5 separate regions of the Homo sapiens genome follow, and all the other regions are linked to region 5. The links are contacts of gene promoters, found by promoter capture Hi-C in blood cells and fetal thymus (Javierre and others, 2016). All regions are on one chromosome and are shown on one strand. The core of a region is centred on a gene start or on the middle of the fragment in contact, and the rest is flanking DNA. Distances in the headings are between cores, read along the strand shown. Region 1 overlaps GABBR2 (gamma-aminobutyric acid type B receptor subunit 2). Region 2 overlaps GABBR2 (gamma-aminobutyric acid type B receptor subunit 2). Region 3 overlaps GABBR2 (gamma-aminobutyric acid type B receptor subunit 2). Region 4 overlaps GABBR2 (gamma-aminobutyric acid type B receptor subunit 2). Region 5 holds the start of GABBR2 (gamma-aminobutyric acid type B receptor subunit 2).

The links. Contacts are between HindIII fragments. The CHiCAGO score rates a contact against its expected background, and 5 or more counts as called.
Region 1: a contact is called between a fragment that was not itself captured here and the fragment with the promoter of GABBR2 in region 5, in 1 of 17 cell types (M1 macrophages). The highest score is 5.2, in M1 macrophages.
Region 2: a fragment that was not itself captured here is called in contact with the fragment with the promoter of GABBR2 in region 5 in 6 of 17 cell types (M2 macrophages, endothelial precursors, M1 macrophages and 3 more); the score reaches 8.2 in M2 macrophages.
Region 3: a fragment that was not itself captured here is called in contact with the fragment with the promoter of GABBR2 in region 5 in 1 of 17 cell types (M1 macrophages); the score reaches 5.2 in M1 macrophages.
Region 4: a contact is called between a fragment that was not itself captured here and the fragment with the promoter of GABBR2 in region 5, in 6 of 17 cell types (M2 macrophages, M1 macrophages, endothelial precursors and 3 more). The highest score is 12.1, in M2 macrophages.

Annotation. Positions count from the first base shown.
Region 1 is chr9:98,426,337-98,431,444 of GRCh38, forward strand. All of the region lies in intron 7 of GABBR2 (gamma-aminobutyric acid type B receptor subunit 2), which reads right to left. Among named protein-coding and RNA genes, the nearest start is that of TBC1D2, 170 kb to the left of the region's middle. The HindIII fragment of the contact is 719 bases long and covers 3,339-4,057 here.
Region 2 is chr9:98,400,139-98,405,396 of GRCh38, forward strand. The region is part of intron 8 of GABBR2 (gamma-aminobutyric acid type B receptor subunit 2); the gene reads right to left. Among named protein-coding and RNA genes, the nearest start is that of TBC1D2, 150 kb to the left of the region's middle. RefSeq lists an enhancer at 1,608-2,109. The HindIII fragment of the contact is 5,462 bases long and covers 1,102-5,258 here.
Region 3 is chr9:98,356,635-98,362,024 of GRCh38, forward strand. All of the region lies in intron 13 of GABBR2 (gamma-aminobutyric acid type B receptor subunit 2), which reads right to left. Among named protein-coding and RNA genes, the nearest start is that of TBC1D2, 100 kb to the left of the region's middle. RefSeq lists an enhancer at 3,157-3,657. The HindIII fragment of the contact is 8,075 bases long and covers 1-5,390 here.
Region 4 is chr9:98,333,993-98,339,273 of GRCh38, forward strand. All of the region lies in intron 13 of GABBR2 (gamma-aminobutyric acid type B receptor subunit 2), which reads right to left. Among named protein-coding and RNA genes, the nearest start is that of TBC1D2, 81 kb to the left of the region's middle. The HindIII fragment of the contact is 1,001 bases long and covers 837-1,837 here.
Region 5 is chr9:98,706,510-98,712,187 of GRCh38, forward strand. It overlaps GABBR2 (gamma-aminobutyric acid type B receptor subunit 2), which reads right to left and starts at 2,426. Exons shown (of 19, transcript NM_005458.8): 1 at 1,908-2,426. The coding sequence starts at 2,228. RefSeq lists enhancers at 52-623, 1,195-1,765, 3,518-3,812. The HindIII fragment of the contact is 8,458 bases long and covers 148-5,678 here.

The DNA.
Region 1 (5,108 bases), core at 2,448-4,947, 280 kb before region 5:
CGTGTATAGGTTTCTCCATTTGCAAAATGGTGTGTGTGAGCCTGCATCTGCCAGTGTGTGTATGCACACGTGTGTGTTAGAGTGAGGGCAAGGAGTACTGGCTAGGACAGTCTCCCAGGCTCTCCTGGATCTCACAGTGCTCAGCTCTGAGTTTGATGAGTCACCAGTTGAGCCCCCAACCTTGGAAACAGTGGGCTGGGCTGGCAGACAGGTGTCCCTGGCATGCCTGATTGAGAACCCATTCTCCCTTTTGGCTCAACTCCCCAACTAGAAACCCAGATGGCTCCACAAGGGAGTTGGGGGACTATTGGTTTCATGGACTAAGCCTAAAAATCTTCCATCAGCTAAAATATCTTCCATTAAGAGAAAAGTGTTAGCAGGCCAGGAGTGGTGGCTCATGCTGTAATTCTAGCACTTTGGGAGGGAGGCCGAGGTGGGCAGATCAACTTGAGGCCAGGAGTTCAAGATCAGCCTGGCTAACATGGTGAAACTCAGTCTCTACTAAAAATACAAAAAGTTAGCTGGGTGTGGTAACCTATGTCTGTAATCCCAGCTACTTGGGAGGCTGAGGCACGAGAATTGCTTGAGCCGGGGAGGTGGAGGTTGCAGTGAGCAGAGATTGTGCCACTGTACTCCAGCCTGCGTGACAGAACAAGAATCTGTCTCGAAAACAAACAAACAAAAGAGACAGGTGTTAGCAAAAAAGGAAAGAGAAATGGAAGGCAGGGCTGCTGCTTTGATGGTCCCAGTGTTTGCCTGAGGAGGGTCAGGAGGTTCTTCTAGCGGCAGAAACCAGAATGAAGGCTGTGAGATGTCAGGAGCAGACTATGAACAAACACAGTTGAGTGTCTTAGGCTGTTTGTAGGGCTGGAGTGAGGTCAGGAGAAGCTGGGGAAGATGAATCAATGAACCACTTGGGTTCTCTCCTTTCCCCTCCCACCTCTGGCCTGGGCTTGGGGGCGTCCTCATTCCCATTTACTATGGCTCTTCTAAGCCCTCTGGTCAACTTACGTGAACTGCTAGAGAATTCAAGAGTCACAGTTTCTTATATTTACAGGACTTGTACCTGGTTTATAGCTGCCAATGCACTTCAGAGTGCACATTTATTTTTCTTGCTCAGCAACCCATCCCCCTTTGGATGGTTTTAATTGAGAGACTATGTCAGCCAGGGTCTTTGATAACCACACTCTAAGGTGGCCCCAAATGACTCTTGCCTCCTGGCGGTCACTACCAAATTCCATCATCCCCTTCCACATTGAATAGGGCTGGCCCGTGTAACTTGTAGGATATGTCTAGAGAAATGGCAGTGTGTACTTTCCAAGAGTAGGTCATAAAAAGATGCCGCAGCCTCAGTTGTTTTCTTTTGGATTACTCATGCTGGTGAAAGCCAGCCACCGTATCATGAAGACACTCAAGCAGCCCTGTGGATTACTCATGCTGGTGAAAGCCAGCCACCGTATCATGAAGACACTCAAGCAGCCCTGTGGAGGGGTCCTGAGGAACTGAGTCCTGTTGATAGCCAGCATCCACTTGCCAGCCATTTGTGGGAGACATCTTGAAAGCAAACCTCCCAGCACTAGTGAGCCTTAGAATGACTGCAGTCCCCACTGACATCTTGCCTGTATTATCCGAGAGACCCCAAGCCAGAACCTTACAGCTAAGTCACTCCTGAATTCCTAACCCACAGAAACTATGTGAGATAATAAACATGTATTGTTGTTTTAAGCCACTACACTTTGGGATCATTTGTTACGACTTAACAGATAACTAATACAGGGCCACAGGAGGAAACATAATTCATCCTGGATGGCTCAAAAGAAGAGACTTTATTAAAAACTACTCGCAGGGTAGGGGGCAGATTGAGGGAGTAGACAAGGGAAGGTGATGTGCCCATGGACCAGCAATGGCAGGAGTTGCTACCATACCTCAGAACGGAAGGAGGAAATAGTGTCACTGGAGATTCAACAAAGTGGGAGACAAGAAGGAGAAGCCACAGCCATGGAGGGGCACAGGTATTTCAGGAGACGCAGCTCCAAAGCAGGGAGGAAGGCAAAGGCTGCACCTGACCAATCTCCTTCCTCCTGGACTCCAATCTCTTGCCTATATTGAACCAGAAACCAGAAGACAGGGGATGTCATCATGGGATCAGCCTCCTAGAGCACCAGAGCAGGGGAGAAAATGCGTGTAAGGAAGAAGAAAAGTAGAGAGACAACACAGAGAGACCCACTTGGCCCCATGCTCAGCCTTGAAGTTCTGTGAAGATGGCTCTATGCAGGGATGGATCACATGACTGGAACTAAGCCAATCAATACAGACTATTCTAGCTATGTGATTGGTTCAGAAATGGGCACATGACCCAAGTCAGCCAGCCAATCAAAACTAACGGGACTAGCAGGGATTTTGCTGGTGCTATAAGGAAAATGGGTTCCCTTTTTTGCTGGACTTGGTGCTGACATGATGAAAAGCAGAAGCAACTGTGCATAGGCCTAGAATGGACCTGGCCCAGGAGAAAGCAGACCCAGAGATGGAGAGCTGGAGAAACCTCATCCTAGACTTTACTGCTCCTTTGCTTAAGTACAGTTTCCTATCACTTGCACCAAAAGAGTCCTGAATGATACATTCTCATCCACATCTTTGGTGATCCTTGAGGCAGCTTTCTGGGTAGGTTGGCAAAGACCATTGATTTCATTTTACAGAGGAAGAGACTGAGGTTCATTTCGCTTTATCACATGGCAACCAGTTCATTTTATTTCATGATTAAATTAAAAACTCACCCAGGTTTTTGGTGTGTGTGTGTGTGTGTGTGTGTGTGTGTGTGTTTGAGACAAAGTGTTGCTCCGCTGCCCAGGCTGGAGTGCAGTGGTGCAATCTCGGCTCACTGCAACCTCCACCTCCCGAGTTCAAGCGATCCTCCTGCATTAGCCTCTTGAGTAGCTGGGATCACAGGCATGCACCACCATGCCCAGCCAATTGTTGTATTTTTAGTAGAGGACCGGGTTTCACCATGCTGGCCAGGCTGGTCTTGGACTCCTGACCTCAAGTGATCCGCCCACCTCAGCCTCCCAAAGTGCTGGGATTACAGGCATGAGCCACCACGCCTGGCCGGATTTTGGTATATATTTTTGTCATCACATTTTATGGTTTTAGATTTCTGACTTCTATGTCAGTGACCTCGCTACGTACATGCCTTTTATTGAGAACTGCTTCAAACTCTCCTTAGAAGTAGGCGATACACTATGATTAATTTTAGTCAAACAAGCAAACAAGGCATGGTGGTTAGGAAGATTTTCCAAGGTCACACATCTTGCAGGCAGTGGATTACAGGAAGACAGGACCAAAGCTTGTTGAGGACAAGCCATTCACTCAGTGTCTTCCCAGGGACTTCAGAACAAAGCAGGGGAGCTTTTCAGTCTGGAAGGGGAGGCGAGAAAACAGATGTCTTCTCTTGACTTCTGAGTTGGCCACAGTCCTTTTAAGTAGCTTACTGGGATGATGCAATCTAGATTTCTCTGACATTGTCTCCAACTTCCCTCCCCCTTGCTGATACCATTCCAGCCACACTGGCTTCCTTGTCATGCCCACACACTCCAACTTCTTTGCCTGCCTGGTAATTTTTCACTGGATGTCAGACCCTTCATTGGGTGTTAGCTTTTAAAAATACTCCTTGAGGCTGGGCGTGGTGGCTCATGCCTGTAATCCCAGCCCTTTGGGAGGCCGAGGCGGGTGGATCACAAGGTCAGGAGATCAACACCATCCTGGCCAACATGGTGAAACCCTGTCTCTACTAAAATAAAAATAAAAAAATTAGCCGGGCTTGGTGGTGCACATCTGTAGTCCCAGCTACTTAGGAGGCTGAGGCAGGGGAATCGCTTGAACCCGGGAGGTGGAGATTGCAGTGAGCCAAGATCATGCCACTGTACTCCAGCCTGGCGACAGAGCGAGACTCCGTCTCAAAAAAAAAAAAAAAAAAAAAAGTTCCTTGAAATATTCTTAAGTTCTGTCTGGGACATAATTAAGTTACTTGGAAGGAGTTTGACCCTTTCGAGTCTTGCTTTTAAGCTTTTTTAGGTGGGACCAGAGCTGCCTTTAGTCTAGGGTTCATTTCACCCCACTCCTGAGATGACCCCCTTCTGAGTATTCTCCTTGTGATTTATTAAACTTTTTCCCACCCAACGTGGTGGGAACATGAACTATTCCCAGGCCTGCCTGAGCTCTGAGGATCCTTCTGCCTGTCTTTTCCTTTCTGCTGGTTCTTTCCCTGGTCTCAAGTGCTTTCCTCTGTACATGTGCCAGTAAGTACTCAGCTGAGGGTGTGAGCAGACCTGCATAGTTCTCCCTCTCCATGCAGCTCTCTCTTCTCCAGTGCTCTGCCTGCAAACTTCTGCCTCCTTTGTCTCTGAATTCTCATCTCTGTCTCTGCAACTCAGCAAGACTGCCAGGCTCTGTTTGGGTTCCCCCTTCCTGTGCTGGAAACCCTCCAGATGGTCATCTGGGCGATTGTAAGATTCACTTCCTTTGTGCTCCTCCTCTCAGGGGTCACTGTCCTCTGCTGCTTGTAGCCCATGTCTGAAAACTGTCATTTCACATAGTATTTGGACTGTTTTTTTTTTTTCTTTAACTTGTTTACAGCAGGAGGGTAAATCTGGTCCCTATTACTCCTCCATCTTGGTTGGAAGTGGGAAGTGGAAGCCCCCAACTCCAGAACTCCAGATACTCTCACCTGGACTTTGGCTGGCTGCTTATCTGCTTGGCTCACTCTTACCTACTCGCTTGCACAACTCATTCCCTCACCTCCTTCAATGCTTTTCTCAAATGTTACCTTCCCAATGTGGCCTTCTCTGGCCAGCCTGTTTAAAACTCTCTTCTCGCCATCCACTGGTAGCATTTCCAATCCTCCTCATCCTCCTACACATCTTTCTTTCTTTCTTTTGGAATAGCAACCATTGTCTTCTGACAACCTGTATACTTTTCTCATTTAATATGGCAAGAACTGATTGTTTGCTCCTGGCACTAGACTGTAAACTCTCTGAAGAAAGGGATTCATTTTGGTTTTGTTCACAGCTGTATTCCTAGCTCCTAGGGCAGTACTTGGCACATAGTAAGTTCTC
Region 2 (5,258 bases), core at 2,583-5,082, 300 kb before region 5:
GTGCCACTGTAGTACTCCACCCCAGGCAACAGAGGGAGACCCTGCCTTTTTTTTTTTTAAAAAAAAAAGAAAAAAAGAAAAGAAAAAAGATCAAAGGATCAGAACAGACAATTAACAAATGACTAATAAGCACAGAAAGAAATATCCAAACTCATTAGGAATCAGAGAAACGATACGTAAAGTCACAATATGATATTACTTTATACTTTTAGACCGTCAAAAAATGAGGGATCCAGGAAATCCCAAATGTGGGTGGTAGGTAGGGACACAGGAATCCTCTGCCAGTGGGTGTGGATATGGGCAAGGCCATTCTGCAGAGCAACCTGGCAGGTTTTGGGCATGTTCAATGTGCACACAGATTCTGACTCAGCAATTCTGCTCTTGGAAACCTGTCCTAAGGAAATTCCCAGTTGGGTCCATAAGGGAACATATATAAGGACATGTATTATTTGTGAGGGTGGAGAGTTGAAAGTGACCTGGGTGTCCGTCCCAGGGGCCTGGATGGGTGAAGTGATGGATGCACCCCACCATGGCTCCTGCAGGGAGCAGGGAGGAGCCATGCCTAGAAGCACACCCAGGACCATGGAGATGTCTTTAGAAACAAAGTGTTGAGTGGAAAAAACAAAACAGAACAGAAAAGATACCTAAGCCAGTGGCACTGATGTACGGAGCAACACGCATCTTGCAAGCACACACACAAACACAATATGGGGTGTTTGCCTTTCCTTGGGGGAGGTAGGAGTGGGATATGGGAATAAAGGAGGGAAATAAGGGGGATAAATGGACACACAAGAGGGACTTTCATGGACCAACGACAATGACTGCCCATGAAATGAGGTGTGCGAATTGTGTCCTAAAGAAGCGCGACTGCACTTTTCTCAAGAAATTCCTCGGGGGAGAGTGTAAATCTGGGGTCACTGTTAAGAGTGCCCAAGAGAGAAGGAAGCCAACAGTTGTTATGACCCTTCTCTGTGCCAGTCCCCGAGACAGGAACATCACAGCCTCACATCATCAGGTTCTCAGTCACTCTCAAGGCAAGGAAAATGATCATCTTTTATTTATTTACTTATTTTTAACTGAAATGAAGGCTCAAAGAGACTAAGCTTCTTTGCCTATCTGTCAATGATCAGGCATGTCTGCTTCAAGCCTATATACTTTCCACATGAGAGGGAATGAGTTCCCCATCACTGGAGGCATTCAAGCAGTGGGAATGTTGTATAAGAGAATCAGGGCTCCCTTCAACATGGAGAGTCGATGGCTCAATGAAACCCAATACCTGTAAAATATGCTGTCTTTTGGGCCACCTTTCTTAGGCTCCCTGAAAGGCAAATCCTGGAACATGAGGGCTGGGAGGTGTCGAGGCTAGGGTCAAGCTGGAAAAGAGTCCACATTTCCGTGTGTCCCCTGGTTCCTGCTTGTCCACAACCCTGCTGGTATATCCTGAAGGATTATGGACTATGACTCCACTCTTTAATTATATCAAGTTGAGTGACAGTCTGACGAAATGGCCTTTCCAGACCCATGACTTGGTGAAGCGAGCTACAATTGCAGGCCTTGACAGAGGAAAAGGTTATTAAAAATCAGCCTCAAGAGTCTCAAAGTAGGGTCAAACTAGCCCTGAAAGTATTCTAGTAGGTTCTGGGAAATAATCTTCCTGCTTTCATAAGCACTGGCATTCGGCCAGAGAGATTATGAAGCCCTGGAGGATCGGGGACTGTATCTTATTCAACTTGGTTTTCTCCAGAGGACTTGGTAAAGCGCCTGGCAGATGCTCAGGAAATGCGCACTGAATACAACCGTATCTGTTACCCTGAAGACCAAATGGTAATTAATGTCTGCAATTGGGAAGGACAAGTCTCCCTTTCACTAGGTACGTTCTGAATGACAATTATGTCGTTAGAGTGAAGGAAGACCCCTTCCCTTCAAATCAGGTGCCAAAATATAAAACTCCAAAGCCTGAGCCCTTTATGTTGCATAGAAGCAGTGTGAAATTCAAGCACATTATCATTCCCCGAGATTCTTACAAATAGGCCTAATGAAGGCAGGGTCGGTGAGTTGGAGCGGCAGATGCTGAGTTTTCTCTAAGAACAGCATAAACAAGGCTCTAATCACGGCTTCACTCAACTTCCTTCCCTGCTGCAAATTCAGAGCCATGTTTAGACTTCGGCAGTAACATGGATACTTTTTTTCTCTTAAGGGGAAAAAAGCCAATTCTCTAGTATTCATCCTCATCTACACGTGGTGTCGTGAAAATCAGCCATGGCATCAGGGAGGAGCATGGAATCTGGAGATGAAAGGGGTTCAGGCCTGAGGTGTGTGCCCAACAGGATGCTAATACCTGCCTTACCTACGGCCAAGGGTGGCTCCCTAAGAATAGCACCTGCCTGAGATGAGGGGAAGAAGGCATGCAGTTTATTTGGAAGGTGATCCTAGGATGCGCTGTTAGTGGTGTGGGGAAGTGAGGCAGGGAAGGGAGCCAGGACAAGGTGCATGAGTGAGCAGGTTTCTTTGTGGGCAACCGAGGCTCAGTCCTACTGTGGGAGCTCTGGGAAAAGAGCCAAACACACCTGGGAGTTGCCTCACCCAAGGGGAAAGGATGCTGGGGTATTTATCCTCCCCTTCTCATCCATCACTGACACAGGGCTGCTCCTGGAGGCGTTAACTCCCTGGATGGCTCATCGCACAGCTTGGACGGCCTATTCAATAATCCATCCTGGTAGATAAGGCACCTCTGAAACCCTTTACATTTGGAAAACCAACTGTTGTGTTGATACGCATATGCCCCCTGCATTCTGGTGGCTCATTTCAGTCCTAAAATAACACAAGGTCCCTCTATTGGAGCAAGAGGATCAATGTCTGTTTAAAAAAACATGTAGGCCAGGCGCAGTGGCTCACGCCTGTAATCTCAGCACTTTGGGAGGCCGAGGTGGGCAGACTGCGAGGTCAGGAGTTCGAGACCAGCCTGGCCAATATGGTGAAACCCCATCTCTACTAAAAATACAAAAATTAGCTGGGCATGGTGGCACGAGCCTGTAGTCCCAGCTACTCGGGAGGCTGAGGCAGAAGAATCACTCGAACCCAGGAGGCAGAGGTTGCAGTGAGCCGAGATTGTGCCACTGCACTCCAGCCTGGGTGACACAGTGAGACTCCGTCTCAAAAAAAAAAAAAAAAAAAAAAATCATGTAAACAGGAGCATCTGGCCTTTATTGAAGGCCCAGCTGTGACCCTCAAGAAAAGCTGGACACAAATGCAGAGAGGGTGAGGGGAGCACACTTGTGCCTGGGTGTCCGTGGGAATGTGCAGAAGAGCAAGCTGAGGTCCAGTCCCTGCTCTGCCACTAGCCAGCTGTGTGTCCCTGGGAGACACTACTCATCCCTGGACCTCAGTTTCCCCATTTATACCATGAATTCTGGAATGAGATCATCGCTAAGGCCCTGCCTTGTATCACCTCCTATACATCACTAAGTGCAGGGAGCCGCTATTAGGGGTAAATGGCAGACAAAAAAGCAGCCAGGGGGTTTCAGCACTTCAGGGAAACCTGAATTTGCCCCAGAAAGGTGTCATAATGTTGACAAGGTGCTAATCATAATTGCTACTTACTTGCTGAGAAAAAAAAAAATATATATATATATACATATATATAAATATATTGTATGTATAGTTAAATATACACATACTTTCTCATTTAGTTTTTCCCATATTCCATGAAGGTAGTTAGGATTATACTCCTATTTTACAGATGAGGACAATCAAGGCTCAGAGAGGCGAAGTCGCTTGCCTGAAATTCTACAGTGAGGAAGTGACTGGATCTCGGGTGGGTCGACCCACAAAGCGCAAGCTCTGAACTGCTGTTTGCTGTACTGCCTTCCTTATAAATCCAGATATGCCTAAATAGTGACTGAAGCTGGTGTTTAAACCTAACGTATGAAAAAAAAAAGGCAATACAATTGGCATGCACTGGTAGCTGTGATCAGCCAATCCTTATTTTACAAAATACTTTCTTAGAATGATATAATTTTGAGAACTGGAAATGAGACAAGAGAATTTAGTTGCAATCACTCAAAAAAAAAAAAAGTAAGTATCTTTGCCAAGATGCTTACTTTGTTCAACCAATGAAGAAGTAAAATTTAACAAATGGAAAAATAATTACGTTTGCCTAAAATTACATCTTTTGTGCACGCCAGAGAGCTGACACGCGTTTCAATTACCTGCCACAGAAAGACGAATGGGTATGTCTACAAGATTGCATTACAGAGCGATAGCGCTGAAGAACACCTCTCCTGATTGATCTGAATCCTGGTGGGATTTGTCTGAATGAATCTGAATAACTCACTTTAATTTCTTGCTTTCCCCTGGATGGCGCTGGGATCTGCTCAAAGTGAGTGGGCACAGCAGGCACCACTCTTGTTTCTGGGTTTTCCAGAAACACTCGGCTGCTCAAGAACACTGTATTGATGAGAGGTTCATCTAGTCGTTTTGGCTAATCACCCCGCTAATGGCTGTACTGGTCTGCCTCAAGGAATGCCCAGCCCTGTTCCTCAAGGATGCTCCTCACATGGCCCTTGTCTGCACCTCCGTTTTTCCCTCATCACACAAAGAAATTGGTCTGGATGGTTTCTGAGGCCCTTCTGACAGCAACAGAAAGTTCAACGCATGACCCGGTTTCTTCAAAAAATAAATGTTCTGTAAAAAGTGGTGGGTTATAATAGATGAAAAGAGACTAAAGAGATACTTCAAGCAGATGCAATGGGTGGAATTTGTGTGGATTTTCCAACAAATCATCTGTGAAGACATCGTTGAGATGATCAGGGGATCCACACAGACTGGGAAATTAAACGATATTAAGAATTGTTTAATGTTTTAGGTGTGATAATAGTACCGTGATTATATTATAAAACCTCCCTATCCAAAAAAATGCATACTGAAGTATTTATAGAATGAGATGAGATCGTGTCTAGGAGCTGCTTTAAAACACTACAGCAAAAAAAGGGGGGATGGGGTGAGTCAAAATGAAAGAAGATTGGCAAAATGTCGATAATGATTGAAACTGCCTATTGGGCACATGGGGGTTCATGATGCTGTTCTCTCTACTTTAGAGTCTGTTTGAACATCTCTAAAATCAAAACCAAAAACAGGTGGGTGCCACTGTTGCATGTCTGTGGTCCCAGCTACTTAGGAGGCTGAGGTGGGAGGACTGCTTGGGCCCAGGAGTTCGAGGCTGCAGTATGCTATGAACGCATCTGTGGATTGCCACTGCA
Region 3 (5,390 bases), core at 1,103-3,602, 350 kb before region 5:
TATAATCATAACTTGCACTCCTGGGTATTTATCCAAATGAATTGAAAATTTATGTCCACACAAAAACTCACACATGAAAGTTTGTAGCAGCCTTATGTATAATTGCCAAAACTTGGAAGCAACTAAGATGCCCTTCGGTGGGTGAATGAATAAACAATCTGTGGTACATCCAGGAAATAGGACATTATTCAGTGATAAAAAGAAATGAGCTACCAGGAAATAGGATATTATTCACTGATAAAAAGAAATGAGCTATCAAACCACAAAAATATATGTAGGAACCTTAAATGCATATTACTAAATGAAAGAAGCCAGTCTAAAAAGGCTACATACTCTGTGATTCTAACTATATGACATTCTGGAAAAGGAAAAACTATGGATCCGTGGTTGTCAAGGATTAGTAAAGCACAGAGGATATTTAGAACAGTGAATCTACTCTGTATGATATTGTAATGGTGACTACATGACATGCATTTGGCAAAGCCCGTAGAACAGTGAACCCTAATGTAAACTATGGACTGTAGTGACGAATAATGTATCAACATTGGTTCATCATTTGAAAAAATGTACCAGACAATGCAAGATATTAATAACAGGAAATTGTGGGGGTGGGTGGAGGGTACATGAGAACTCTTTGTACTTCTGTTAACTTTTTCTGTAAACCTAAAACTACCCTAAGAAATAAAGTCTATTAAGTAAGTATAAATAAAATTTAAAAAATTAAATACATCTGCTGGGCATGGTGGCTCATTCCTGTCATCGCGGCACTTTGGGAGGCCAGGGCAGGTGGAATATTTGAGCCCAGGAATTGGAGACCAGTCTAGACAACATGAGGAAACTCCGTCTTTACAAAAAATACAAAAATTAATGGGGTGTGGTGGCGCATGCCTGTAGTCCCAGCTACTTGGGGGGCTGAGGCTGGGGGATCACCTGAGCCAGGGGAGGTGCAGTGAGCCGTGATCTTGCCATTGCACTCCAGTCTGGGTAACAGAGTGAGATCCTGTCTCAAAACAAAACAAAACAGACAAACAAACAAAAAACAACAACAAAAAAAAAAACCCCACATCATAGTTTCTGAAGAGGAGATATAATGTATATGTACAATTTGAAGAACAGAATTGCCAGAGCCTTACAGGACCTGTGTGCCTGTCTCAATCATATCCTCCTATCCTGCCCACCAAGAAGTAACCACAATCTTGAATTCTGTGTTAAAAATTGCCTTCTTCTTTTTTTAAAAAATGGTTTTGCTACCTATGTATGTATCCTTAAACAATATTCTGTTCAGTTTCTCCAGTGTTTGAACTTGAAGCGTGTGAAAGCCTGTTTTGGGTATTCATGCGTGACTTGCTGTTTTTGCTCATTGCTGTGTTGTTGAGATGCCTCCAAACTGATGTGTATGGCTGTGGCTCATTCATTCCCACAGCTGTATAGCCTTCCTTTCTTTGAAAATACCATAGTGCACGTATCCATTCTGTTCCTGTGGGCCATTTAGGATGCTATCAGTTTTTGGCTGTTATAAACAGTGCTGCTGTGAACACCCAGGCTTGGGTCTCCTTGGGCATATGTGTGAGACTTCCCCTAGGGATGTGTCCTAGTGGAATAGCTGGGCTGTGGGGCATGTGCATCTTTGACATGACTCATGTCAAATAGTTTTCCAAGTGGTTGTGCCAATGTACACTGGAGTAGCACTGTGTGTTGTGTTTGCTGCCTGTGTCCTCTCAGCACTTGGTTCACTGGACACACTGCCTGCTCTCTAAATGCAGCGGCCTCTGCCTGAGTGCTCCCATACCAGCTCAGGCCTCCTTGGCTTTCAGCTGAAAAGTCTTCTTTGACCCTATGAGGCCAGACTGGCGTCCCTCCTCGGGCTCCACAGCACCCTGTACCATGAGGGTTGTGAGTTAGCCACTGACTTGTCTGTCTTCCTAACTGCTCTAAGGGGTCCTTGAAGGAAGGGCCACATCTCATTCACTGCTGTCTCTCTGGAGTCCCTCACAGGGCCTGATGCATAGCTGGTGAAAAAGGTGAGAGTGAGGCTGGAATCACTTTGGGGCATGAGGAGGCTGTGGGGTGCTGAGCCATAGCTGGAGGCTTGGCAGTGGCAGGGGCGTCATGGAGTCAGGCTCCAGGACCACAGCCACACAGTCAGCCTGCCCTGAGAGGGACTGTGTGTAGCCCCTGAGAGAGGAAAGAGGCGGTGAAACCAGAAGTCAGGACCTCCATCCCCTGCCTCAGGGACCCTTTCCACCCGTATGTGGGGTTGGGTGGCAACATGGTTGAAAGCAGACCACCTGGGGTGGAATCCAGGCTCTGCCACTCACTGGCTGAGTGACCTGGGCCAGTCACTGAAGGTCTCTGTGTCTCAGTTTCCTCATCTATAAAATGGGGGCAAAAATATCTCCTACCTCACAGGATTATTATAAAGATTAAATTAAATGAGTTCATATTTGTAAAGCATTTAGAACAGTACCTGGCACATGACGAGTGCTACAGAAGTACTTATGACATATAAATGGCTGGGCGAGGTGGCTCACACCTATAATCCCAGCACTTTGGGAGGCTGAGGCAGGTGGATCAATTGAGGCCAGGAGTTTGAGACCAGCCTGGACAACACGGTGAAAGCCTATCTCTACTAAGAATACAAAATTTAGTCAGGCATGGTGGTGCACACCTGTAGTCCCAGCTACTTGGGAGGCTGAGGCATGAGAATCACTTGAACCCAGGAGATGGAGGTTGAGCAGCGAGCCAAGATCATGCCACTGCACTCCAGCCTAGGTGACAGAGTGAGACTCTGTCTCCAAAAAAATAAAATAAAATAAAATAAATCGATCAATATTTATGGCACAGAAATGAATAAGGATGGGGGACTGGGCTGCCCCCAGTAGGCCTCTAGGGGACTTGCATTCCAAGGACCCTTGAGTATGCTCTCTCAGGGTGAATTGCTTCCATGGGTCCTTCCTGTTATTCTCAAGCCCTGGGTTCTGTTTATTTCCCTCTCACTGCTTTCAGAGTCGACAGTGATCTGAAGTGATACGGTTATTCGTCTGCAGGTTTAGTCTGCTCCCTGATTTGCCTGCAGGCTGCCATGAGGCTGTGGCTGCCATGGCTACCTGTGTCTTCCCATGGAAGATGCCGGCCGTGGCGTGCTTGCTGGGTGGGCTGTGTGGAGGCTGGCTGAGACATGGCCCTGTCCTGGAGAAGTTGCTTGCTGGGAGTCCTGACTGGGGAATGTTTGGGATGCTGGGGGAGGAAGTGAGGCAGAGCAGGTTCTCGACTCCAGCGGAGCCAGTGAACACAGGGACACCTCTCCATAGGAGGTAACACTGGTGCTGAAACTGAAGTCATATACTTGGCAGAGAAGATTCTGGAAGGGGACACAGCATGAGCAAAGGCTAGGACGCGTACCATATTACAAGGCCCATACCTGGAATCCTCAGGTGCTCAGAGTCCGGAGCACACAGGGTGTCTGAAGTAGGTAAGTGGGAGGGAGGGATGGGCCACAAAGGTCTTTCATCATCTCTCCCCCAAGCCTAGGCTTTCTGTTTGGAGATCCTGGACAAAACAGCCCCTTGAAGGAGACTTTAGGATACCTCAGGCCCTGGGCACACTGTTCAACTACCCTGTTGTGTCTGACAGAGGAGGGTCTGAGAGAAACCAACGGCTTGGTGCTGTTTGTAGAAAAACGACAATAAACAGGGCTGTGGGTGGACAGATCAAAGGGTTCTGTTACCATAGCAACAGAGGGACAGGCCAACCCTAAAATAAAAGAAGAAAAGTAGGCACCTGCCAGAAAAGGTTCTGAGAGAAATCTCAGCACACCCTGCAGGGAGACACAGGAACAGCCTATCTGGGCCTTGCCTTGGACAATCTGGGTGACCCTGGGCCCTGGATAGCACCTTTCCAGGCTCTGTTTCCTTATCTACACAGAAAGGCACTTCTGCAGCACCCTGGGACTCCTCAGTTTGAGAACCATAGCCTTGGAAAGTCTGGAATGTGCTAGGGTTCTATGCACAGAGCCATTGATAGCAGCAGTGCTTATTACAGAATAGAAGGAAGGCAGGTAAGAGCCATGATAGCAAACCATCAGCTAGACACATCAGACTGCACAGGTTTACCTTGTTTAAACGGTCCAGTAGGACAGGCATCCCCACTTCCAGAGTCTGTTGACTCTGGCACTGCTGGTGTCTCCCCACCACAGCTGGAGCCTTGGGAACCTCTCGTAAATACTCAGCTCCCACCTTCATCTAGAATAGAGGCGGCAGCCATTCAGCCTCCCTAGCCCACTGTTGGGCTCCACACTGAGCCACTGTGCCTCGTTCTGTCCACCTGGTCCAGCTCCAGGCCTTCCACAAACTCTGCCTGACTCACCCTGCTCTTATTTCTTGATCTCCTGGGCCCTCAGTCTGCCCATTATTCTACTTTTTTCTCCTCATCTGTAGAAGGGGAGAACATTTCCCTGCCCTACTCACTTCCCAGATCTGTGGCCAATGAACAAAGGTTTAAGAAAGCCTGTAAAACTGCTAAGAGCTGCCCAGGTGTTGAAAGGCAGGGTTAGGCAGTAGGTGAGAGGGTAGTTAGTGGTATTGTCACTAACCTGCTAGGTAACCTTGGGTAAGTTACACAGCCTCTCTAGGTTTCTGTTTCCTCATCAGTAAAATGAGGTTAAGGACAGCATCTACCTCCCAGAATTGCTGTGAGGATTAAATGAGTTAACGCATGATACCAGCTGTCATCATCATCATCGCTCTTATCATCGTTGCTTTTTATTATCACCGCCACAGTCTCTCCCTAGCTCAGGGGCCCAGTTAGCCAATGATAGCTCTTCCTGGTGTTGACATCCTGTCTGGATTTCTAAATTCTGGTGCTGGGCAGGGAATTCCCTTGGGATGAAGGGGGCATTCCCTTGGGATGAATTGGGACCCACCCAGCTGTTCTGTTGCCTACCTTGCAGGGTGAATGGTGACCAGATGTCCCCCCGTCCAAAAATAGCCTGTCTGCTCGAGTGGACTCAGTTCCTGCCCCCTTGGCCCGTGGGCAGAGCCAGTGTCGGGTCTTTCCTCCTTACCAGTTCTGGTTGTGACTGTCTGGAGTCCCACTTCTATGTGGAAGGTGGTCAGGTGGAGGGACATAGTTCTCAATCTCTTTCCTATATGGCATTCTCTGCTGCTGCTCTGAATGCATGCATAACTTCTTACCAAGCTGAGTAAACACTGTCTCGAGATAAATGAGGCTGAGCATCTTATTTTCTATAAAACCTTCTTGTCTAGAAAGATAAAAGGCTCTGCCCTCAGTGCATAGAATGACCATTTCTGGTTTAGTGTAAGAATTCACACTAAATTCCCACAAAAGATCTCTCTAACAAAGCAGTGAGAGAAACAGAGATTCTTATTTTC
Region 4 (5,281 bases), core at 87-2,586, 370 kb before region 5:
CTTGGAACAGTGCTTACCACATAGCATGCACTCAAGAAAAGCTGTTGCTATGATTATTTTTGCTATTGTTACTCCTAAGACAATGCAGCTTTGTTGAAATCCTAGAAGAAGGCTGAGTAGATCTAGTACTAAGGATGAAGCGGGACTGGAAGGTGAAGCTCTCAGATCTAAACTTGCTGGATTTGAATATCTGTTCACTCTCATGAACCATCAACCAGATAATCACAGATGTGAAAGAGATTTAAGCATTTGTAAGAGAACATTATGCACAATTGGAAGCTAATAATTTTGAAAGCATCAATGAAGAAAAAGAAAACAAAGGGACGGATGCAAAAAGAAGCAGGAAGTGTGAATGGATCAATCCCAGTGGAAGGGATACTGACTCATCCAATACCACAAGGCTTGGGCTGGGTTCCAGTTCTCATGCGTAGCAAGCAAGGTTATCTCAGGCCAGTCAGGTCACCTACTCAGCTTTAGTTTCCTCTGATGAATCTCTAAAATGGGGATGTCAAGGTGCTTTGTGAACTTTGCCATGCTGTTGAAATGTGAGACACTGTTGTCATTATTATAGTACGTGTTTGCTTACTATTGGGTGCTTGCATGTGAGTAGGGTAAGCCTGGAGTTGGGGTACCAGTCCAGAGAAGGGCAAGAGTATGGGTGGGTGGGCTGGGAAGTGAGATTTGGGCAGGACCAGCAATGATCGTGTTTCTTCTGGCTGCTGTCCCCTAAGGGGTGGTTCACAGGTTGTCTCAGCCTCCTCTGACATGAACAGAGCATCTTTGGGGCATGTTAAATGTTTCATCCTTTGTCAAGGACAAAACAACTCAGTATTTGAAGCTTAATCCACTATCGCTTTAGGGAGAAACTTCAAGCTAAACAAGGGCAGAAAAGAATGAACATCCCACCACAGGGCTGGCGGTTCCTTTCCGAGCCACCATGAGTGCTGAGGTGCCTGGACACTGTGGTTCCCTTGTCCTTTTTTCTTCCCTGTTGGTTTCTGTGGTCAGTGGTTTCCTTGTGATTGTAGAGCACTTAGAAACAAACCTGCCTAAAGTTCTGGTGTGGAACTTGCTCACCCTCTGTCTTCCCATTGCAATGAACAATGCTGCAGAAATAGAAACCTCATAGAAACCTCCCTTTTTTCCTCTTCCTTGCTCTCTCTCTTCCACTGGAGAAACAATTGTTCAAATGCTAACACAAAGATTTTCAGAAAAATATGAGACCAGAGGGCCTGCGTAGCTCTTTGGGGTCTGCACACATGAACTCCCCAGGTGGGCCTCTCTCTGAGTCTGTAATTCTTTTGTCATCATCATCATCTCTGGCTGGCAGGGACCAACTGGACTTCAGATTTTCTGGATTCAGCCTTTTCTTCTTTTACTTTCTAGTCGTAAAAATTTATTGTCCTGAGTCTATTTATCACCCTGGTATCCAAGGTACAGTCTTGGGCCCTTCCTAGAGATTCGTGAGAGTCTGGACCAGAGAATCTCAACTCCGGCTGCACACCAGAACCCATGGCAACTTTAAAAAATTCCTGATGCACAGGGCCCTTTCTAAGCCAGTTAAATCAGATATTTTGGGGGGTGTGACCCGGGCCGGTATTTTCAAAAAGATCTTTTCTGGGTGATGTAGCAGGATTGAGAACCACGAGTCAAGTTTCTCTTTGAAATCATTCAACAACAACAACAACAACAACAACCAAACTTCCTCTTCACCTTTAAAACATTACTTATTTTTCTTTTTAGTATCAACATATTCATCCAATAGTTCAATCCAGCTACTGAGCAACCACATTACCTACTCAGCTGTTGTCAGTGCTGACAAGAATCATGCCAGGGAAGCTTGTCCATCATCCATTCATTCATGCACGCATTCCTTTGTTCATTCATTCACTCATCCATTCAACCAACATATATTGAGCTGTGTGTCTGTCTGGCCCTGTGCAAGGCCATGGAGAAAGAGCTCTGAGTAAGATAGTTAAGGGCCCTGTTTCATGGGGCTCACATTCTAGTGGATGATAGAATATAGATGAGAGAACGAGGAATAAGCAATGTGATGGAGAAACAGGGGAGGTGAGAAAGAATGTTGGGGGACATTTAAGGATCTGGTGATCAGGGAGGTGGCATTTAAGCTAGATCTGAATGACAGGAAAGAGTCTGAAAAGGTTTGGAGGAAGAGCGTTCCAGGCAGAAGAATCATGAATGCAAAGGCACAAAGTTGGGAATAAAGTTGGAGTGTTAGAGCTCCAGACAGAAGGCCCACATGGCTAAAGACTGGGGTGAGCACAGGGAGAGGAACTAGATGAAGTCAGATATGGAGTGGGACTGGATTGTGTAGGACCTGTAGCAAGGTAAGAAGTGTGGGTTTTATTTTAAATTGGAGAATTTTAAGTGCAAAATAGTAAGATACGTCGTGCGTTTAAAAAAGATATCTGGCTGGGCGCAGTGGCTCATGCCTATAATCCCAGCACTTTGGGAGGCCAAGGCGGGTGGATCACAAAGTCAGGAGTTTGAGACCAGCCTGGCCAATATGGTGAAACCCCGTCTCTACTAAAAAATACAAAAATTAGCCAGGCATGGTGGCATGTGCCTGTAGTCCCAGCTACTCGGGAGGCTGAGGCAGGAGAATCGCTTGAACCCAGGAGGCAGAGGTTGCAGTGAGCCAAGATCACGCCACTGACTCCAGCCTGAGCGACAGAGGGAGACTCTGTCTCAAAAACAAAAAAGTATCTTCCAGAATGGCAGATGTAAATCCTGCCTTTCCAGTAATTACATAAAATGGATTAAACACTCCAATTGAAATGCAGAGATTGGCAGAATGAATTAAAAAAAACATGATCTGACTATATTTGCTGTATATGTGACTCACTTTTGATTCAAAGATATAAGTAGGTTGAAAGTCTATCCGAGAATTTTTTGGCTATTCAGGAAAATGGAATATGAAGCATACAAATTGGAATGAAAGGAGCAAAACTCTCTATTTGCAAATTATATAATCTTATGGGTAGAAAATTCTAAAGAATCCACCAAGAAGGCTGGGTTCAGTGGCTCACACCTGTAATCCCAGCACTTTGGGAGGCCAAGACAGGTGGATTACCTGAGGTCAGGAGTTGAAGACCAGCCTGGACAACATAGTGAAACCCTGTCTCTACTAAAAATACAAAAATTAGCCAGGCATGGTGGTGGGTGCCTGTAACCTCAGCTACTCAGGAGGCCGAGGCACGAGAATCGCTTGAACCCGGGAGGCGGAGGTTGCAGTGAGCCAAGATTGCACCAATGCACTCCCGCCTGGGTGACAGAGTGAGACTCCATCTCGGAAGAAAAAAAAATTGCTGAAAGAAATTAAAGAAGACCTAAATAAATGAAAAGATAGCCCATGTTCATGAATTGGAAGACAATATTCTTAAGATGGCAATACTCCCCATATTATCTACAAACTCAAATCAACGCTTATGAAAATCCCAACAGCCTTTTTTACAGACATGAAAAAACTGATCGTATAAATCATATGGAATCTCAAGGGACCCTGCATAGCTAAAACAATCTTGCAAGAGAAGAAAAAAATCAGAAGACTCACACTTCCAATTTTAATTGCCACAAAGCTACAATAATCAAGTCAGCATGGTGTTGGCATAAGGATAGACATATAAATTGGTGGAATAGAATTGAGAATCCAGAAATACAAGTACACATCCATGGTCAGCTGATTTTCAACATGGGTTACAAGACTATTCAATGGGGAAAGGATATTCTTTTCAACAAGTGGTGTCCAGGGGCGGTAGCTCACGCCTATAATCCCAGCACTTTGGGAGGCTGAGGTCAGGAGTTTGAGACCAGGCTGGCCAAGAGCCTATTTTTTTAGTCTCTACTAAAAAAACAAAAATTAGCCAGGCATGGTGGTGGGTGCCTGTAATCCCAGTTACTCGGGAGGCTGAGGCAGGAGAATTGCTTGAACCTGGGAGGAGGAGTTTGCAGTGAGCTGAGATTGTGCCACTGTACTCCAGCCTGGGCGACAGAGTGAAACTCCGTCTCGAAAAAACCAAAACAAACAAGTGGTGCTTGCACAGCTATATATCCACGTGCAAAATAATTAATTTGGATCACTACCTCATACCATGTACAAAAACTAACTCAGAATGGATCAAATACCTAAATGTAAGAACAAATAGTATAAAACTCTTAGAAGAAGACATAAGTGTAAATCTTCATGAGCTTGGATCAGACAATAGTTTCTTAGCTATGACACCTAAAGCAGAAATAATAAAAGAAAAAATATATAAATTGCACTTTATCAAAATTAAAATTTTTCATGTGTCAGAGGACATTATTGAGAAAATGCAAAGACAACTCACAGAATGAGAGAAAATATTTGTAAATTATATATCTGACAAAGGCCTAGTATCTAGAATATATAAAGAACTCTTACAACTCCACAAAAAACAGATGAATAATTCAATTAAAAATGGGCAAAGTCTCTGAATAGACATTTCTCCAACAAAGATACATAAATGGCCAATAAGCATGTAAAAAGACACTCAGCACCATTAGTCATTAGTTATTTGATAGTCATTCTCATCAAAACCACCAGAAACCTTTATACTCACTAAGATGGCTATAATCAAAAAGGCAGATAAATAACAAGGATTGGCAGCAATGTGGAGAAATTGGAACCCTCATATATTGCTGGTGGGAATGTAAAATGGTGCAGCTACTGTGAAAAATTGGCCGTTCCTAAAAATGTTAACATGAGTTAACATGGTTACCATGTAGCCCAGCAATTCCACTCCCAGGTATATATCCAAGAGAACTAAAAGCATATGTTCACACAAAAATTTGTGCATGAATGCTCACATTAGCATTATTCATAATAGTCAAGAGTTGAAACAACCAAAATATCTATGAAATGTTGAATGGAAAAACAAAATGCAATATATTAAAACAAGGGGATATTACTTAGCCATAAAAAGAAATAAAGTGCAGATACATGAAGGAACCTTGAAAACATTACGCTAAGTGAAAGAAGCCAGGCACAAAAGTCCATAGATTGTTTGATTCCATTGACATGAAATGTCCACAATAGACAAATCCATAAAGGCTGAAAATAGATGAGTGGTTGCTAGGGACTGGAGGGAAGGGAAAAAGAAGGGGTGATGGATAAAAGAAGGTTTCTTTTTGGGGTGACAACGTTTTTCTCAAATAAGATAGTGGTGATAGTTGCACAGCTTTATGAATAGGCTAAAAACCACTAGGGTATACATTTAAAGACTGAATTTTATGATATGTG
Region 5 (5,678 bases), core at 1,176-3,675:
CATCCTCTTGACTTTGGGTCCTTTCACTCAGAAAGTCATCAAGACACACTCGAAAAATAAAATGTAAAGGCTTCAACCCACACCCTGAAACGAAGCACCCATCTCTTTGCTGCCACAAACAGGCCAGTATGAAATCTCTTTCAGGGAAGCTTTCTAAAGGGAAGAAACTGATGATGAAAACATTATGCAGCTGACAATACTTGGTGATGATGCAAGCAGGGCTGCCCTATCTAAAAATGTGTTTGTCCCCAAAAGACCGGCTTTGCAGTGACCCCTCCAGAAGAATATGTGCAGTAGCAACAGAGAAACTGTCAAGAAGATATGCCTCCGTGTAACTGCATTGCTGTCTCCATTTATGTGTGCCAGACAAGTACCCCCACAGAACTTGAGATGCTCAGGCAAAGACGAGGGCGATAGGAATGTCATTCGGAAATGATTTCACACCGGGTTAGCCCTGCACAGCCAGCCAGCTTGCATCCTCTGGGGCAGAGGACGCCTCTCCGCCTGCAGCAGCCTGCGCGTACCGCTGCCAACTGCCACCGGTTCCTTCACCTTTTATTTACAGCGCAGAGCAAGCTGGTTCACCGGTGAAGCGGGGGAGGCAGGGAATAAGATACAATCTAGATTCTGCTCTTTCTCTGGGGACATAAAGAGGGTCCGACCAAGGAGGAGGGGAAGCCCAGATTGCACCACCAGAGCAGTAGCGCGACCCTCCTCCCAAAAGGGTTCTGCACCTGGACTCCAGCAGAAGCGCCCGGAGAGTCCCAGGAAGCCAGGATCAAGCCCAGCGCCTCGGCCCCGTTCCGCGCGATGGAAGAGGCGCCAACCGAGCGTACTGCACAGGAAATCACTGCCCCCTTCAGGCCGCGTCTCAGACGCTGCGGTCGGAGCACAGGGGCTCGCTCGGTCCGGAAAAACTCGCAAACCCGACCTTGCGCGGCCAGCGATCGCTCCTCCAGACCCGCTCCGCGCGCTCCAGCCCCGGCCTGGCGGTGAAGGTCCGCTCTGGGGCTTCAGGCAGAACCCAAACCGAGGGCGTGGGGAGGGGTCTTGGGATGGAAAGCCCTTGGCTCTCTGGCTCCGCTCCGGACTGCTCTCCAAGTCTGTGCTCCGGCTGCTAGGTCGGATGCTTCAAGCCTGAGCCGTGAGAAACTGCCTGCAGCCGCCCGGCCAACAGCAGCGGCGCGGCCGGACACCACTGCACGTCCGGGACGAGAACTGCCAGGGCACTTTCTGAGCAACTAACCCGAGGCAGGGGTCTCCTGAAATCGCTCTGGCCACAGGCAGCGCCGGGCACGTCCAGGCAGAAGCGCTGCAGAGCCGGTGGCCCCACACTTGCCCGCGCGGAGCGGGCTCAGAGCTGCTGGCGCGCACCAGGCGCCCAGCCACGCTGCACGCTCAAGCCCCTTGGGTTCCGGAGCCTTCCGGACCTCAAAGCGCGGCTCGGCTTCCCTGGGGGCCTGTGAGCAGGCCCGCGGCCCCTCCGGCCCTGGGTGGCCCAGTTTGCAGTCAATGCGCCTGTTCCTCCCACTCGGTACCTCGCAGCCCCATGAGCGGGACCTGGACAGGGACAATCAATGTAGGCCTTTGGGGGTCCAGCCCCCACCTTCTCCACTCCTTTTTCTCTGGTCAAAAGAGACCCCAGTCTTCTATCCCACCCCCACCCCTCCCCACACACACATACACACATAAGACCAGAGGAGGGGGTGCTTGGCAAATGTTACCAGCTGTGCCAGCCAAGCCCAGCAGGACCGCGGGGGTGAACACTGGGCACCAGCCCTCTCTGCCCTCGGCAGGCGCGGGCCGGTCAATCGGGGATCTGACCAAAGGCCGGAGGTTGCCTGTGTCCAAACCACCCACCCCAATGCCCCCCGAAGCCCCGACGGCAGGGGCAGCCGGACACTCACCTCCGTGTCATAGAGCCGCAGGTCGAGGAAGTAGGGGCGCAGGAGTGACTCGTTGCGGATCTGCTCGATGGCCAGTTCCACGGCGGGGAGCACACCGCGCCCGATGCTGCCCTTGGCCACCTCCTTGGTGAGCGGCATGAGGCCCATGATGGAGAGCGGCGGGCTGCTGGGCGGCGGCCGGGGGGCGCCCCGCGCCCAGCCCCAGGCCCCGGGCGCCAGAGGCAGCAGCAGCGGCAGCAGCAGTAGCAGTAGCAGGCGCGCGGGCGGCGGTGGCGGCGGCGGCGGCGGCCCGGGCTGCCCGGAGCTCCGCGGGGAAGCCATGCCGCGCCGCGGGCTGCGGGCGCCGGCTCACTCGGCCCGCATGGCCTGGCCCGGCCCGCCGCCCCGCGCCAAGGTCTTCCCGCGGCGCCCGCGCAATGGCGCCGGCCCGGGCCCCGGCTCCGTCTCGGGCTAGGGTTCCGGCTCGGCTCAGAACGGCCGCGGCGGCGGCGGCGGCAGCGGCGGCGCCCGTGACGGATCAATCACGCCGGGAAGGGGTGGGAGCGAGCGGAGTGCGGGAGGCGGGGAGCAAGCGAGCAAACGCGGAGAGGGGGGCCGGCGTCTCCGCGCGCGCCTCTCTCCAGCGCGGCCGCCCCGCACCGGGCCGCCTCCGCCCGCCCCCGTGCGCGCTCTGAACCGCTCTCCCGCCGGGAGCTGCTAGGCGGCAGCCCCTGGAGCTCGGCCGGGGGAGGGCGGACGGCAGGAAACGCGGGAGGCGAAGGCGAGGCTGCTCAGGGGCGGCTCGGGCCGCCTCCAGGGACGGGGACGAGCCGTGCGCGCCGGGGGAGGGGGAGGCGCTGGCGCTGCGGCGGCCGCGGGGAGGGCCACCTTCCCAGCACACGCACACACGCGCCCCCGGCCCTCCGCTGCGCCAGCTGCCGCTGCCCGCCGACCGCTGACCTCCAGGCACCAGAGCGCCCGGGGACAGCGATCTGGGAACCGGGACCGCGCGCTGGCACACGCAGTGGCCGCCGCCGCTCCGCCGAGCGCTGCCTGTAGCACCTGCACGGTGGTTTGGAACCGCTTCTCGGAGGTCTGGCCGGGAAGGTCTGGGCAGGAGAATGTTCCACGAAGGCGTCCCAGAGGCATCTGCAGCCTACGCTCTCCCGTTCTTTTCTGGCGCCCACGAGCCCCTGACCGAGTCCCGGGGGTCGCTGAAGACGCCCACGGGTGCTCGAACGCCCGTTGGTGCCAGGCTGCCCGGCCTTTAGGGCCTTGGCTGAGGACACCCCTTTCCTCCCCACCAGACGGAGCGACCGCCCTTTGCCAACCCCAAGCAAAGCTGGGGTCCCAACCTTACGTGCGCTACCGCCCCCTCCAGGCATTTGACCTCCCCGCGTCCCCATTCTTGATGGGCCCCGCCCTAGAAGTCTCCCGGGGTGGGAGCACTATCCTCAGGCCAGGGCGGGGCCGCGCGCCCCTGGACTTGGCCCTCTCTCTGCCAGGTCGCACTGGCCAATCTTAGCCAAAGCAGTCCCGAGCCAGATGTACCCGAGTGAGCTGACCTAAGACCTTGGGTTCCTTGTGCCTCTGCATACTTCAAGAATAGGAAACGTGATCATTAATCTATAAAGTCCCAGGGGCTGATTAATGCGAGGAACACAGTAGGACATCAAATCACAAAACATACTTGAGCCTGAACCAGGGACTGTGGAAGATATCGACGACCTTGTAACAAGAATGGAAGTTTGACCTTCGCTGAGTACTTACTGTGTGCCTTATGATGTAATCCCCACAACTGCCCTGTAAGCATACTGTGTTACTCACCCTTACTTTACAGGCGAATACACTGGTGCTCAGAGAGGTTCTGTAGCTAGTGGAAGCACACAGAGCTACTGAAGGACCGGAACCCAGAGCCAGCAGGAACTCCGTGCACAGTGCAGTGGGAGCCAGGGATGTGGGACTGCAAGTTTCCTCTCCAGGAGGAGCACTGCCCTGACTCAGTTGCTCTGGACATCGATTCCCTCCGGCATATGGTGAGGGATTTGGACCGGATGATGATGATGATGGCCACACACCAGCTCTACTGGAGTGAGGCAAGGGCAGCTCTGAATCCAGGCTGAGTTGTTAGGAAGCACAAAGATGTGAGTGGAGGCTGAGCAGAACTACTAGAGAGTACCTTGGACAGCGCCAGGGAAACCAGGCCAAATTCTCTCTGCCCTAACTTCTCTTTCCAGGCTTCTATAGACTCCACCTCTCCCGGCTCCACTTGGCATTTCCTTTTCCCCAAGCTGGAGGGTTTGCATGAACAGAACTCACCTGAGCATCTCCTCCAGGAAGGGAGGAAGGAAGGGAGGGAGGGAAAGAAATGGTCCAAAGGACAGTGTAATCCCCAGATACTCGCTCAACTGCTGTCTCACTTGACATCACAAATATCCTCCAGTCATAGTCTTCTGGCACCTGCCATTCCTCAAACCCTTAGCTCAGGTTTCTGAATGAACATTTTCACTTGGTTTTTTTCTTTTTTCTAATTCTTTCCTTTAGTCATTTGTGTCCTCCTTGCAAGCTGTGCCAATATAGAGTGTCCACTGACACCTACATCTGGGAATAAGTTGAAAGCTGGGTAACTTTGCCTGACATTTACTAAGGGGTTGAAGGCCCTACCTGGCATCCTGCCCTACAGCCCCTCTGTCTTCTTTTATGGTGGGGTGACCTGGCCCCAAGACGCATGACCTGGGATCTGCCCTGACCCAGGGGGCACCAATCTCACTCTCCATCAGCATGGCTCCAGGCCAATCTCTGATCTCACAGCCCACTCCTAATGCCTGGGCATCCCTCTGGTTCCAAGATCTTACTCTGGCCTGGTATTACAGTTTGGGTAACTGCATCCCTGATGTGCTTCCTGAGTCTGAGTTCCTGCCTCAGTCACCAGCCTAGAATGCATGTTCCTCCAGAGCTGGGGTCCAGCGTCTTGCTTTATAATAATCATTCATTCCTTTGACCAGTGTTTTGAAGGGCATGCTACCTGCTAGGCACTGTCCTAGGAGCTGATGATATAGGAAGGAAAAAACCAGAACAAAATCCCTGCCCTTGTAGAATTGACATTCTAGTGGAGAAAGAGAAACAATAAATAGGAAGAAGAAGATATGTTAGTATGCCCATTTATGAAAAGTGCTATGGTGAACAAAAAAGCAGGAAAGAGGATTGAGACTGGCAGAGTGGGGCTGCAATTTGAAATAGGGAGGTCAGGGAAAGACACACTAAGGTGACTCCTCAGCAAAGACATAAAGAAGGTAAGTAAGAGAGACAGGCGAATAGTGTTCCATGCAGAGGAACAGCAAGGGCAGAGGCTCCGAGACAGGAGTGTGCCTGGCATGTTCAAGGAACAATGTGGAAGCCAATGTGGTAGAGCAGAGTGGGCAAAGGGAAAGCAATCAGATCCAAGGTCAAAGGCAGGTAGGACTGTATGGGGCCTCAGCACTGGGAGGGCACATGAAACAGCAACCGTGGGAGGCTACTGGGTGGAGCAGTGACATGATCTGATGTATTTTAAGAGGATCACTCTGGCTGTAGAGTGAAGAACCGTTAGCAGGGGAAAAGAGCGTGAGCAGGAATACCTGTTAGGAGTCTCTACTACAATAAGCACATTTGGTGGCCAGGCCAGGGTATAAGCAGAAGAGAGGATGAGAATTGGCTAATCATTGTGCTTCTTATTAATTGGAATAAAATGCATTGGCCAAGTCCCAGAATGTGGAAAACACTTGATTCCCTTGAACTCATCTACCTTTTAAG